2 separate regions of the Homo sapiens genome follow, and region 2 is linked to region 1. The links are contacts of gene promoters, found by promoter capture Hi-C in blood cells and fetal thymus (Javierre and others, 2016). All regions are on one chromosome and are shown on one strand. The core of a region is centred on a gene start or on the middle of the fragment in contact, and the rest is flanking DNA. Distances in the headings are between cores, read along the strand shown.

Region 1 (6,897 bases), core at 2,827-5,326:
GAAGATTTGGAAAACTCAAGGTGGAGTCATCAAGAGGCAGAGGAACACATTCTGTTAAACACCTAAGTGAGAGACAGTGCTGACTGCATTTTCCTCAAGTGAGAGATGGGGTAGGGACAGGGTCCACAGTGATGTAAGCCCTGTAGAGACTGACCTGCTATGGGGAGTTCAGGAGGCTGAGGAGAGCCAGGCTAGATCTAAAGAACAGGAACCTGTAAAGTCAAGAGTACAGCAGGGAGAAGAGGGAAACAGGACTGCTCAGAGCTGAGCAGAACAGGCAGACTATGAACTTCTGATGCCAGAGGCAGTGTCCTCCTTCTTGCCCCAGGGGGGCCAACTCCATTTTCCCACATCTAGTGGTTATTTTTATGGATAGATTTATTTTTACCCGTTCTAGACCTCAAACCTGCCGCTGCAAGAAGCGAAGCACTGAGGCTTCTAGCTTTCCAGAAAACACAGGCCTCAGTGGTCAGCTCAGTGACAGAGATCAGGCTATGGTCCCCTCGGCTCCTCTGGGGTCACATTGACCCACCCCCCGACATCCCTCCCTCCTGTCTGCAGCAGAGCTGGGGTGGGAATGGAGTGGGAGGGGGATTCCTTTTTTCTCATCCCACAACCCCACAGCCGGTCAAGGGGAGGATCTACAGCCACCCTGGAAGTCATAAACCTGGCCTGCCCCTGAATCCTAGCCAGCCAGATGTGGGACAGCCATCAGAGCCTCTTTTGACAGCACCTCCCTGGCAGAGCCTGTCTCCCTGGAATCCAGGGAGCTTGAGGGGAAGATCTTACCTTTCCAATAATAACCAGCTATGAAAGGGTATCATTTCCCAGTCCCCACAAAACAGGCAGCCAAAGCAGACTTCTTCTTTATTGGGACCATACATCTGGCCTAAATTGTCATTCCCCCAAGACAAGTTTACTGAACAGTTAGGCAATGCCTCCACACACAGCCACTGCAGACGAGCTTAAAATATACTTTAATACATTTAAACAGTCATTTCAGAGACTGGCTTTCTTATGATAAAGATGCAACTGACACTCATTGGTGCTAAAATGTCATGTTGTTGCCATCCAGCAGGGAGCCTGACAAGCCATTAAATCTGCAGCTCTGTTAAGCTGATTCATTTCTTTTCCTTTCTTTCTCATGTCTTCCCCAACAATTGATTTGGGCTCCTGAAGCTGATATTTTGCTAGGGTCTACCAAAATCTAACAAGGGTGCTGTGCATTGTAGGGTGTGCCCGTAGTCCCAGTTTCTAGGAAGGCTGAGGCGAGAGGATCACTTGAGGTCAGGAGTTTAAAAGCAACTTGGGCAACACAGGGAGACCCATAATGAAAAAAAAGAAGGAAGGAAGAAGGAAGGAAGGAAGGAAAGGGAGGAGGGAAGGGAGGGAGGAAGGAAGAGAGGAAGGAAGGACGGAAAAAAGGAAGAGAAAAAGAAAGAAAGAGAAAGAAAGAGAGAAAGAAAGAAAGAAAGAAGGAAGGAAGGAAGGAAGGAAGGAAAGAAAGAAAGAAAGAAAGAAAGAAAGAAAGAAAGAAAGAAAGAAAGAAAGAAAGAAAGAAAGAGGGAGGGAGGAAGGAAGGAAGGTAGAGGGAGGGAAGGAAGGAAGGGAGATGGAAGGAAGGAAGGGGAAAGAAAGGGAGAAAGGAAGGGAAGGGAAGGGAAGGGGAGGGAAAAGGAGGGAAGGGGAGGGAAAAAGGAGGGAAGGGAAGAGGGAGGGAAGGGAAGAGGGAGGGAATGGAAGAGGGAGGGAAGAGGGAGGGAGGAAGGAAGGAATCTAACAAGGTACTAACTGTTCTTGAAATGCCCTGGGAAGGTGGGAGTGACTAGAGGAGTTGCAAGAGGCTGAAATGAGAACAAAGGTCACCTTTAGTGTCCTGTAAGTGCCTTGAGTGTCAGACAGTCAATCACTAGACAAAAAAGACCAAACAATCCATAGTTCCCATAGAGGGTGACCCTAAAATCTCCCCTTACCCCTGCAACTTTCTTCGGCTGCTGGCAGGGAGAGGCACAAGCACAGGCAGGGGCTTATTTTTTTTCTCTTGTTTTTAATTTTTTTGTAGAGATGGGGTGGGTCTTGCTATGTTGCCCAGGCTGGTCTTGAAATCTGGCCCCAAGTGATCCTCCCTCCTCAGCCTCCCAAAGTACTGGAATTACACGGATGAGCCACTGTGCCTAGCCAGGGCTTATTTTGGATTTTGTTTTCAGATGACAGCAGGCAATCTCCAGCCTCACATTGATGAACTCTGAGTTCTGAGCCCAGCCCAACCAGTCTAAAAACATTACTGGCCGGGTGCGGGGGCTCACGCCTGTAATCCCAGCACTTTGGGAGGCCGAGGCGGGCAGATCATGAGGTCAGGAGATCGAGACCATTCTGGCTAACATGGTGAAACCCCGTCTCTACTAAAAATACAAAAACAAAATTAGCCGGGCGTGGTGGCAGGGGCCTGTAGTCCCAGCTACTCGGGAGGCTGAGGCAGGAGAATGGCGTGAACCCCGGAGGCGGAGCTTGCAGTGAGCCGAGATCACGCCACTGCACTCCAGCCTGGGCAACAGAGCAAGACTCCGTCTCAAAAAAAAAAAAAAAAACCATAAAGAAAAAAGAAATAGCAGGGTAAGAAAATGAAGAGGAAAAAGAGGACCCAAATGAGAGAACATTGGGAAGGGTGCTAGTTGGACACGGGGGAAACTGGACCCCGTTTCACAACCCTGTTTCTCCATGCACATGTGGCTCTGCTTCTTGGGGGCAGAGATGACAGCAAAGAAGGACAGGGGGTGGTGTGAGCTGTTGGGTTAGAATGATAGGATCAAAGAGGCCTTTTCCCAACCCTCTGTTTAAAAGGTTGGGAAGTAGTGGCCAGTCACCTTCTTCACAGCATAGCTCATAGCTATAACCTGTGAGACATATGTCAATGTGCCTTCCATAAGCATATAAACATGAGTGTGTTTGCTGAGGTAGGTGTGGGAATCTGTCAGTCAATGAAGATATGTTGTGTGAACCAGCTGATGGTGCATGTTTGTGCTTGAAAGCCATAAAGTTCTATGCAAAATCTATGGGTGGCACTGTTGCACAATGCTAGTGGGTGTGTGGGTATGGGGGTGTGATTAACTGTTTACAGGCTGTGTATAAGTGTGCATGGATGTCTGAGTGTGTGCAAATTAAAACGGAAATATGTGCCGGAGTATGATACAAAGTACAGGAAAGTACTCGGGCTTTGGAGTCTGTCTGACTTGGTCTTGAATCGTTGGCTCTGTCATTAGCCGGATGTATAACCTTGGGCCAGACACTCAATCTTCAATTCCCTCAACTAGGAAATGAGGTTAATAATAAGTACCTTTCAAGATTAAATGAGGACTAGAAACGATACCATATAGACAAAGCTTTTGGTGTCATAGCCCACGCATAGCAGGACTCAAAAGTAAGCAGCTATTTTCATGCACTGTCAGTATACCTCTGGTGGGTACAGGGACAAGAGGGAACAAAATGTGACCTGTATATAAGGTGTAGGGGAGGACGGGTGTGTGTGTGTGTGTGTGTGTGTGTGTGTGTGTGTGTGTGTGTGTGTTTACAAAACAATTTATTCTCCTTCTCCAAGGAACCCCCTATTCAGACAGGAGCAGGAAGGTAGGAGGGGACATACAAGTGTCCACAGACACCTCGGGTTTCTGGGTCCTGGATCTAAGTGAGTAAGGGGTTGAGAGGCCCGTAGGAGCTGCAGGAAGCCAGCCGCCTGCCCAAGCTTCCTTTTTTTTCCCCTCCGCCCAGCAACCGTTGAATACCGCCACCCACATCCACTCCCCACCTCCACCCTCACCCCTCCTCCACCCCTACTCAGCTTTCTATTCAACAAGTGAGAGCAAGGGCGGGGAAGAAAGCCGACAGGGGAGAGGATTGCTTCCCTTTCTTTTCCCATTCCCCCTTAAGACGAACCAGGAAGTAACCGCAAGAATCGGGCCACCTTAACAGTAGAGTAATGGTTTGGCCTCGCGCCAAGTCCCACCTCTGTTCCAGCTCCTGCTCCTCCCCTCTCTCTTCCCGCACTGCTTGGGGAGAGCTGGTGAGCAAGAGTCTGGCCCGAGTTAGCTAGAGCTGTTGCCATGACAAGCATTTTCTTAAGAAAGCTCTGCTGTTGAGATCGTCCAAAGCTGGGGGCTGGGAGGGGGGGCACGAACTTCGTGGGGCACCATCCCTCCGAAGAGAGCAAGATCAGAGACACCCGCCCAGCTCTCCTGCACCCTTTTTCTTTCAGGAACCTGAGAGGTCCTTCCCATTGGAGGGGCAGGGGGAGGAGACCCAGCCCACTCCCCGGCCTTAGCCAGAAAGGCAAGAGAGCAAAGCCAGCGTCTCTAGCTTGGTTGCCACACTGGGGAGACTGGTGGGTGGTCACCCCACCCTACCCTCATCCATGGAAACCCGGAGGGAGAGTCCCGCCTGAAGAAACCTGGATCTTTGCTAGAAAGAGAGGTAGGCTTGCAGAGAATGAATTGACTTGTGATTTGCAAACTTTGTTTCTTTCTTTTCTCTCAATGGCTTCTAAAACTCCCCGATTTTCCTCTTTCTAGAATATTTCATGCGACTGGGTTTGGAGGATTTTTTTTAAAATATGTGTGTGTGCACAGATTTGTCAAATACTGTTTTACCTATTATCAGTTCTGAGAAACCATATAGTCGAACAAGTGATTTATCTCTCTTTTCCTAGTTCTTGTCATTCCTGGGCTATGGGGTAGGGTAATGGAGGGTTCTCTTTTTGACACCAAAATTGAGCTCTTGGAAAAAATATTTATCTCCCCTCCCTCAACCCATTCCGTTCCTGCCCTCCCCTTCCCCCCTTGGCTTGGGAATGAGACGCAGGATGGAAAACTGTTGCAAAAATATTTTCCGTGTCTGTTCCCTTTCTCGAAAGCCCAAAAGAGAGATGGAAAAAAAAAAAAAAAAGGAACCAAAGAAATCTTCAGCAGAAAGAGGGGCTGCAGCGGGAACTAGGAGAGGGGCACTTTGGGGCCATGGGGTGGAGGTGGGCTGGGAGAAGTTGGCAGGAGTGGGGAAGGAGAGTGCACGAATTAAATTTCTTTAGCTTTGCAGAGAAACCTCAGCAGTTTCTCTGTGCTGCTTGCAAAACATCCTCAGACTTTCACATGTATAATTAGCTGTGGAAAAAGCTGGGAGTTACCTCGTACCGCTGTTGTTTGAGTGTGTGTGAGCGTCCAGAACCAACTGTATGAGTGTCTCCGAGGGCACCGCCCCACACATCTCTGGTCCCAAAGGGGAGGAAGGAGAAGGGTGAATTGAAAAGTTTCCGATGTCGAGGCTGGACACTGTGGGGCTGGTGAGTGTTTGGCAGATGGGGTGGGCCACAGGCATCTGTGGAAGGATCCCTGAGCGTCTCGGGCCACTGCCTTGGCTTGCTGAAGAGCTAGGAATTAAGACTGGGATTGTCCTTCCTGCTCTCCCTTCTCTCTTTCTTTTACATACTTGGCTCGCTCTTGGTAGAGGGGGCTGCTGGCATCCTTCCCCGAGTCGAGTCTGGCCTCTTACACTCCTCCACCTCCCTGAGGGTACCCGCCGCTCTTCTCCAACTGGGTGTGGAGGGTGCAGGAGTGGCCAGCCGCATCTTGGGAGGGGAGTGGGCACTCTGCTGCCAGAGGCACGTCCCTCCTGGGCATTCCTGCCGGACTTAACAATAACTTGCAGACGTGATGCCGGCGCCTGCTGGCCGGGCAGGGGGAATGTCAGATGAAGAAATAGGCCGGTACTCAACTGAGGCCCCTGTGGAGAGGGGAAAGGAGTGGGGGAGGGAAGGGAAACAAAATCCCATTCTGCAGCGCCCCCCTCCTCTGTGTGAGGAGTCTGGCAGGGAGTCTAGAGACCCTGGCCCTGCTCCTTAAGCCCCTCCCCAAGCTGCCCCTTCTCCACGCGCTTCCCATTGGAGGCCCTACTACGCCCCCTCCACTCTGAGCCCTCTACCTGGAGGAAGGAGACCAGGCTCATTCCAGGCTGGGCCAGGCCCAGGAAAGCAGCCTGGGAGTGACGAGGGGCTGGGCCAGGAGTGTTTAGGAAGAAGGGGAGTGGAAGAGGCCTCCTAGCCCATGTGCTGAGTTACCCTCCTTGGCTGAGGGTGGTGGCTTGGGGAGCAGACTCTGGGAGGGGCAGGAAGGATGGTGGCAGCTTGGTAAGGCGTGTTCTGGAAGGTGGGCCCTAAACCCTGAAGCAGACAAATCTGTGGGAATCAGGCTGGGGGAGAGGAAACACCTGCCTTCAGCCCCAGGGCTTGGAGGAGTGGTAAAGGCTACAGCTGAGACACTGCGGGAGAAGGAAGTAAAACACTTAGAGGAGAGCTCATCTCGGGGCTGGGGATGCAACAGGAACGATTTGATTTTCACTTTGAGGTGTTGATTGATCTGACTGCACCCCTCGGCTAGACAGCTCTTCCCTACCTGTGTTCTGCTCGAGAAGGGAATGAGGCCTTCCCCAGTGGGCAGGGCCCCCAAGACAGAATTAATGCCCGTGTTCTGGAGGGAGGGGATCCATTTCTATACTCCTCCTCGGGAGTCCCATCCTCCCTGCCACCATCTTGCTGAGGTGCAACCTCGAAAATCACGCCGCTTTCGCCGCGGCCTCCCATCGTGGAGGCTCAGAGTGCAGCTATTCCTGCAGCCGGCCTTCCTATTTTCAGTAATCTGATTAGGGGTCGATGTTGGTGGGCTCGGGGACGGCTTCTCCGTGAGGTCGTTATTTAGCGCGCACCGGGTCGCCTGAGCCCGGGGTCGCGGCCAAAGGGGTAATCGGCTCCCGCAGTCTCAGCCCTTCCCCCGGGGCTCGGGGCAGGATTGACTGCGCAACCCTGCGGCCCCTGTGCTCTCCGCGGCCTCTGCGACCCCGCCCCGCCAGCCTCTCCGC
Region 2 (7,169 bases), core at 1,931-4,430, 250 kb before region 1:
AACCCTTTGTACCAGGAGGAAAAGAGGAAGCAGGGCAGTGACTGACCTACAGTGACATGGGAGGCCAGTGATGCCTCCAGGTCTCACTCTTCTTGGGGGTACATCTGTTCCTCCTAACAAGATTGTACATTCTTTGTGAGCAGGAACTATGTCCACACATCTTCAAAGATCCATAAGGTCTTGCAGCGTCTGGCACATAGTATGTGCTCAATAAATGTTTCGTTCCCTCATTCATTTTTTCCCACAAGATTTATTGAGTGCCTCTTATGTGCCAAGCATGGGGACTACAATGATAAACAGGGCTGTGGAGCCCTGATTTCAAGGAACAATGACTAGAGGAAGATGTGAACACCTATAATTGCAAAAGAAGATAAAAAGTCATGATAGACTCTGTTAGGGTGGAGAGTTATCTAAGGCTTCCCAGGGAGACTTGAAGGGTCAGTAGGACCTTGTCAGGTGTTAATGAAGAGAAATAATTATGGCAGACAAAGGGAACAGACTTTGCCATTCCTGGGAAGCATGGAGGCACCCGCGGGATGTTATTACTTAAGTGACCAGACTGAAATGCAAATGATAGAGGCCTTTCTTTCTCATAATCTCTTCTCTGAAACCCTTCATTATCCTCCTCTTAGTGTGGAGGGGATTGGTGGTAGGTGGGAAAGAAGGAGCTCAGCTATCTTATCCTCCTCTCAGTTCTTCTTTAGACCACCTCTCCCCTTTCAACTCTCACACCTAATAAGAGAGGCGAAAGGGTGACAGCATGGCATAATGGTTAAGAGCAGAGACTTTGGAGTAAGACTTTCTGAGATCAAATTAGGCTTTGCTACTTACTAGCTATGTGATCTTAGAACACCCTCTCTGTGCCTCTGTTTCCTATTCTATATAATGAAGACAGCAGCAGAACCTACTTCGTAAGGTTACCGTGAGAAGGAAATAAGCCGTGTACAGCACACAGGAATAGCACCTGCACATCAGAAATGGTTAGTAAGTGCTAGCAATCTTTACTAATCCCATTTCAATTGCTAATGTTACAGAATTACGATACCTTGGGTTCTCTCCGGAGCATCTCTTATTTCAGACTCTGTAGAACTGGCTCCTGAAGCCAGTAGTTCTCAAACTTTGGTGTGCATCTGGATTCCCTGTGGTGCCACTGAGGCAGCCAAGGAGACTCTGCCTCTGGAGATTCGCATTCAGTGGTTCTGCATAGGGGCCCAGGAGTCTGTAATTTTAACGGTCTCTCCAGGTCTTTCTCATTAACACCAAGGACTGCAGTGTTGGGCCATTTGTTTCCCTTTCAGATTTAGGGACTTGAAGATCTTGCCCTATCTCTCCTGTCCCTCAGGGCTGGATTAACTGAAGGACTTTGTTACCTTAGAGAAGCACACCTGGGAGAGGGATGTGAATGTATTTGCATCTTGTTAGCCATCAGGAAGGGACGTGGACAATCTGGTATAATGGAGAAGGGGTCAGTGCCAATGATGAAGATCCCCATAGGGGTGTGAGTAGGTGGGCAGGCACAAATGCCCACATGTGCTTGACACCGCAACTCAGCTTCCAGCGCTCTAGCTACAGTGGAACTGAGGGAGGGCAGGGTGTAGAGAAGGGAGCTCCAGGCCAAATTTCTTTGTCACTTTGGCAACACCTGCACCACCTTCTGGCCCAGGGCTTTGGCTGCCGTCTTTGCCCTCAGCCTCTGCCACAGGTCCACAGTCTTCCTTGTTCACCCCAGCAGGTTGCTTCCTGCATCATGCTGTCCACTGCACTGCTTCATGTCTCCTGGGCCACAGGGCTGTTTTTGTAGGCCTTTCATAATCTGCTCCTCCTCTCCAATTAGCCTTATACAAGTCAGTTCTGCTCTGCAAGTTGCTGAGGTTAACTAGAACACAGAGACTGGCCCAGAGGGGTTAAAGTGGTGAAATGAAAAGAAGGGTGTATCATCCTGGGAGCACTGAAAGGAAGTGATATAAAAGTGATGGGGACAGGTGCAGTGGCTGATGCCTGTAATCCCAGCACTTTGGGAGACCAAAGTGTGTGGATCACAAGGTCAGCAGTTCGAGACCAGCCTGGCCAACATGGTGAAACCTCGTCTCTACTAAAAATACAAAAAATTAGCCAGATGTTGTGGTGCATGCCTGTAATCCCAGCTACTTGGGAAGCTGAGGCAGGAGAATCGCTTGAACTCAGGAGGCAGAGGTTGCAGTGAGCTGAGATCCCAGCTACTGGGGAGGCTGAGGCAGGAGAATCACTTGAACCCAGGAGGTGGAGGTTGTAGTGAGCTGAGATTGCACCACTGCACTCCAGCCTGGGCAACAGAGCAAGACTCTGTCTCAAGTTTAAAAAAAAAAAAAATGATGAGCCGGCTGGGCTTTGGGAGGCCAAGGTAGGTGGATCACCTGAGGTCAGGAGTTCGAGACCAGCCTGGCCAACATGGTGAAACCCCATCTCTACTAAAAATACAAAAATTAGCCAGGTGTGGTGGCTGGTGCCTGTAATCCCAGCTACTCGGGAGGCTGAGGCAGAAGAATCGCTTGAACCTGGGAGGTGGAGGTTGTGGTGAGCCAAGATCACGCCATTGCACTCCAGCCTGGGTGACAAAATGAAGACTCTGTCTCAAAAAAAAAAAAAAAAAAAGTGATGGGCCTCTGGGATGATGGCCCCAACCATTGGGATCACACAGCCGCTGGGGAAATAAACCCCCAAAATGCTGTTTGAGCAAGATGGCCAAAAAATGGTACCCTTGCCGCCACACCCACTCTGCATCAGTCAATCCTGGCACTCAAGACCCAGAGAGGCTGCAAATGCTTCTCAATGGAGTGCCTGAGGGAGCCACCACCATGTTTGGGGATTGATGTGAAGGTAACACTTAGTGGGCATCCCCGTCTGGAAAAATAAGCGAAGCAGCTGAGCTTCACCACATATTAAAAAACCAGCCCTAACAGATATCTGGTGAAGATATCTTCACCACAGGCAAAATAGGAAAGTAAGAAAGAGGCAGGGGTGAGCAGAGACTGGCTCCTCTTCTTCCTGGGAACACAGCTACCCTACATTTCCCAGCCTCCCTTGTGGCCATTTGACTGGGCTCCAGCCAATGGAATGTGAGGAGAAGCCACGGGCCTCTTCCAGGCCTGGTGCGTAAGTCTACCCCACACAGTCCTTTGCGATTTTCCTCTCCCACTTTGGGAGCCAGTGGATGAAGAGGGTGGAACCATAGAATAGAAGGAACCCAGATACAGATCACTGTTCAGAGGAGAGCTGCCTGCCAGTCAGGAAGACCCATTTTGGACTTTATGTGAGCAAAAAATACCTTCTTTCCTTCCTTCCCTCCTTCCTTCCTTCCTTCTTTCTTTTCTCTCCTTCCTTCCTTCCTTTCTCTCTCTCTTTCTTTTCCTTCCTTTCTTCCTTCCTTTCTCCTTCCTTCCTTTCTCCCTTCCTTCCTTCCTTCCTTCCTTCCTTCCTTCCTTCCTTCCTTCCTTCCTTCCTTCCTTCCTCCCTTCCTTCTTTCGACTCACTATGTTGCCTAGGCTGGTTTCAAATTCCTGGGCTCGAGAGATCCTCCCACCTCAGCCTCCCAAAGTGCTGGGATTACAGGCGTGAACCACCATGCCTGGCCAAAAACTAGATTACTGTCATATTTGATCCATAGAGAGTTTTAGGTTTATTATAGCAGTTAGTGTTATCTTAACTAACGCAAGGTGGAAGGGTAGGACTTGCAGAGGCCCATGGCTGAGAGACCTTGATTAAGGTTGGAGGGGGAACAATATGGCAGTCTTAGACCCCAGGGGGAAAGTCCTCTCTTGTCCTGGGGTCCAGGAAAAAGAAGAGGACTGGGGGCAGAGTGGAGGCATAGGCCATCCCAGAGTGGGGAGGAGAAAGGGAAGAAGGAAAGGGGACCCCTGGGGAGGCTGAGGCACAGACTCTAGGAGGGACTCTGCAGCTCTTCTACTGGCACCTCCGGTCTCCTGAATGCCAACGCTGCTGACCACTCTCCTTCCTCTTCACCACCTCTCCACTTTGGCCCCCTTTTCCCTTCTGTATTTCCTCCCATTTTCTGCCAGTGGTAAGGAGGGCTTTACCACTTTTTTGGAGTAAGGTCAGAGAAGACCTTTAAGAAATGCCAGCTCACAGAGAGAAATAACATAAACTGGTTCAAATGTTAGCTGAAGAGAGGCAGCTGCCTTTCATATTTGTACCAACAAAGGTTAAGTAAATCAATCACCCTTCAGAGTTAGTTCTCAGGGGAGGGAAAGGAGGAGGAATTTGTGATCTGAGGCCAGCAGTCTTAGCTGAGAGTCTGGTGCATTTCAAGGGAGAGAAAACCTTTAGTTAAAAGCTATCTTAGTGGTAATCCAAAGGGAAATTGAGCCAAGTGAAGTGCAAAGTAATTTCTGACCTTGGGACAAAGGGAAGGCAAAACTACGCCAGCTCCCAGGCCTGAAGGGAACACTTAGTTGATTAATGCTGTGCCTGCAGGCTCTGTTCACTCTAATAAAATGATATTTAAAGGTGCAGGGTTTACCAAGCTGTGGTCTCTAAGGGAGCACAGAAGATTTCTAGAAAGGGTTCCAGGGCCTTCACGGTATGCTCCGTGCTTGCGCCCGCCACCCCTCTTGTCTGTAGACTGTCACTGGGTACAGTGACAGTCTGCAGTGCTGTTTTGATTCCTCAGAACCTTTTATGAAGGACAACTTCCAAAGAATTAGACCCTGGAGCTCCCTTAAATACAAGCCAATGAAAATGGCATTTTTTCCCCCTAGAAATGCTCTGACCTTAAAAGGAATATTGGAGGCAGGAGGAAACAGAGGAAGCAAGAAGAATTTCCTGGAAGGTAATTATTGTAATATAAGCATACTTCGGAGATATTGCAGGTTCCGTTCCAGACCACTGCAACAGTGAATATCTCAATCAAGTGAGTCACATGAATTTTTTGGTTCCCTAGTGCATATAAAAATTATGTCTATACTATACTAGGGTCTATTAAGTGTGCAATAGCATTATGTCTAAAAAACATTGTACATACCTTAATTTAAAAATGCTTTATTGATAAAAATGCTAATGAACATCTGAGGCTTCAGCAAGTCATAACCTTTTTGCAAGTGGAGGGTCTTGACTCATGTTGATGGCTGCTGACTGATCAGGGTGGTGGTCACTGAAGACTGAAGTGGCTGTGGCAATTTCTTAAAATAAGATGACAATGAAGTTTGCCACATTGATTGACTCTTCCTTTCATGAAAGATTTCTCTGTAGCATGTGATGCTGTTTGATAGCATTTTACCCAGAGTGGAACTTGTTTCAAAATTGGAGTCAATCTTCAGCTCTACTACTGCTTTATCAACTATGTTTATGTAATATTCTAAATCTTTTGTTGTCACTTCAACAATGTTCACAGCATCTTCACCAGGAGTAGATTTTATCTTAAGAAGCCACTTTCTTTGCTCATCCAGAAGCTACAACTCCTCATCATGAGATTTCAGCAGTTCAGTTCCATCTTCAGGCCCTATTTTTAGTTCTCTTTAGTTCTCTTGCTATTTCCACGACATCTGCAATGACTTCCTCAACTGAAGTCTTGAACCCCTCAAAGTAATCCATGAAGGTGAGAATAAACTTCTTCCAAATTCCTATTAATGTTGATATTTTGACCTTGATTGTTCTTAATGGCATCTAGAATGGTGAATCCCTTCCAGAAGGTTTTCAACTTACTTTGCCCAGATTCATCAGAGGAATCATTATCTATGGCAGCTATAGCCTTACAAAATGTATTTCTTACATCATAAGACTTGAAAGTTGAAATTATTCCTTAATCCATGGGCTTCAGAATGGATGTTGTGTTAGCAGGCATGAAAACATTCATCTCCTTGTGCGTCTCCATCAGAACTCTTGGGTGGCCAGGATTATTGTCAACGAGCAGTAATATTTTGAAAGGAATCTTTTTTTCTGAACAGTATGGCTCGATAGTGGACTTAAAATAGTTCATAAACCATATTGGAAACAGATGCGCTGTCATCCAGGCTTTGTTGCCCTATTTATAGAGCATAGGCAGAGTATATAGGGTCTCACTCTGCTGCCCAGGCTGGAGTGCAGTGGCAAAATCATAGTTCCCTACGGCCTTGAACCCTTGGTCCCAAGAAATCTTCCTGCTTTAGCCTCCAAAATAGCTGCAGCTACAGGTACACACCATCACACCTGGCTAATTTTTTTTTTTTTTAATTTTGTAGAGATGGGGTCTGGCTCTGTTGCCCAGGCTGGTCTTGAACACCTGGGCTCAAGTGATTCTCCCATCTCAGCTTCTCAAAGAGCTGGGATTACAGGCATGAGCCACTGCTCCTAGCCGCATAATTCCTTAGAGTTTTCAAAATGGTAAATGAGCATTGGCTACAACTTAAAGCCACCAGCTGCATTAGCCCCTAACATGAGAGTCAGCCTATCCTCTGAAACTTTGAAGCCAGGCATTGACTTCTCCTCTCTAGCTATGAAAGTCTTAGATGGCATTTTCTTCTTTAAAGAAGCCTGTTTTATCTACATTGAAAAGCTGTTGTTTAGTGTAGTCACCTTCATAAGTTACCTTAGCTAGATCTTCTAGATAACTTGCTGTAGTGTCTACATCAGCATTTGTTGCTGCACCTTGTACTTTTATGTTATGGAGATGACTTCTTTCCTTAAACCTAATGAACCAACATCTGCTAGCTTCTGCAGCTTCCTGACCTCTCTCAGCCTCTTCTATGGGATTGAAGAGAGTTAGGGCCTTGCTCTGAATTACGATTTGGCTCAAGGGAGTATTGTGGCTGGTTTGATCTATCCAGACCACTAAAACTTTCTATCAGGAGTAAGGCTGTTTTCTTTCTTATCATTCATGTGTTCACTGGAATAGCACTTTTAATTTTCTTCAAGAGCTTTTCCTTTGCATTCAAAACTTGGCTGTTTGGCACAAGAGGCCTAGCATTCAGCCTATCTCAGCTTTGGACATACCTTCCTCACTAAGCTTAACAGTTTCTAGCTTTTCATGTAAAGTGAGAGACATGACTCTTTCACTTGAACACTTAGAGGCTATCCTAAGTTTATTAATTGGCTTAATTTCAATGTTGTGTGTCTTAGGGAATAGGGAGGCCCAAGGAGAAGAAGAGAGATGGGGGAAAGCTGGTGGGAGCAGTCAGAACACACACATTTATCCATTG

Evidence for each region. The method cuts DNA at HindIII sites, captures the fragments that hold promoters and counts their contacts. A CHiCAGO score of 5 or more calls a contact.
Region 2: a contact is called between a fragment that was not itself captured here and the fragment with the promoter of ATP2B4 in region 1, in 2 of 17 cell types (M2 macrophages and M0 macrophages). The highest score is 8.6, in M2 macrophages.

Annotation. Positions count from the first base shown.
Region 1 is chr1:203,622,756-203,629,652 of GRCh38, forward strand. ATP2B4 (ATPase plasma membrane Ca2+ transporting 4) reads left to right here and starts at 4,077. Exons shown (of 21, transcript NM_001684.5): 1 at 4,077-4,464. RefSeq lists enhancers at 3,071-3,945, 3,946-4,818 and a silencer at 6,778-6,857. The HindIII fragment of the contact is 13,651 bases long and covers 3,738-6,897 here.
Region 2 is chr1:203,369,824-203,376,992 of GRCh38, forward strand. It overlaps LOC102723529 (a long non-coding RNA gene), which reads left to right and starts at 3,160. Exons shown (of 7, transcript XR_922438.3): 1 at 3,160-3,289; 2 at 4,755-4,906; 3 at 5,387-5,590. The HindIII fragment of the contact is 7,588 bases long and covers 1-6,974 here.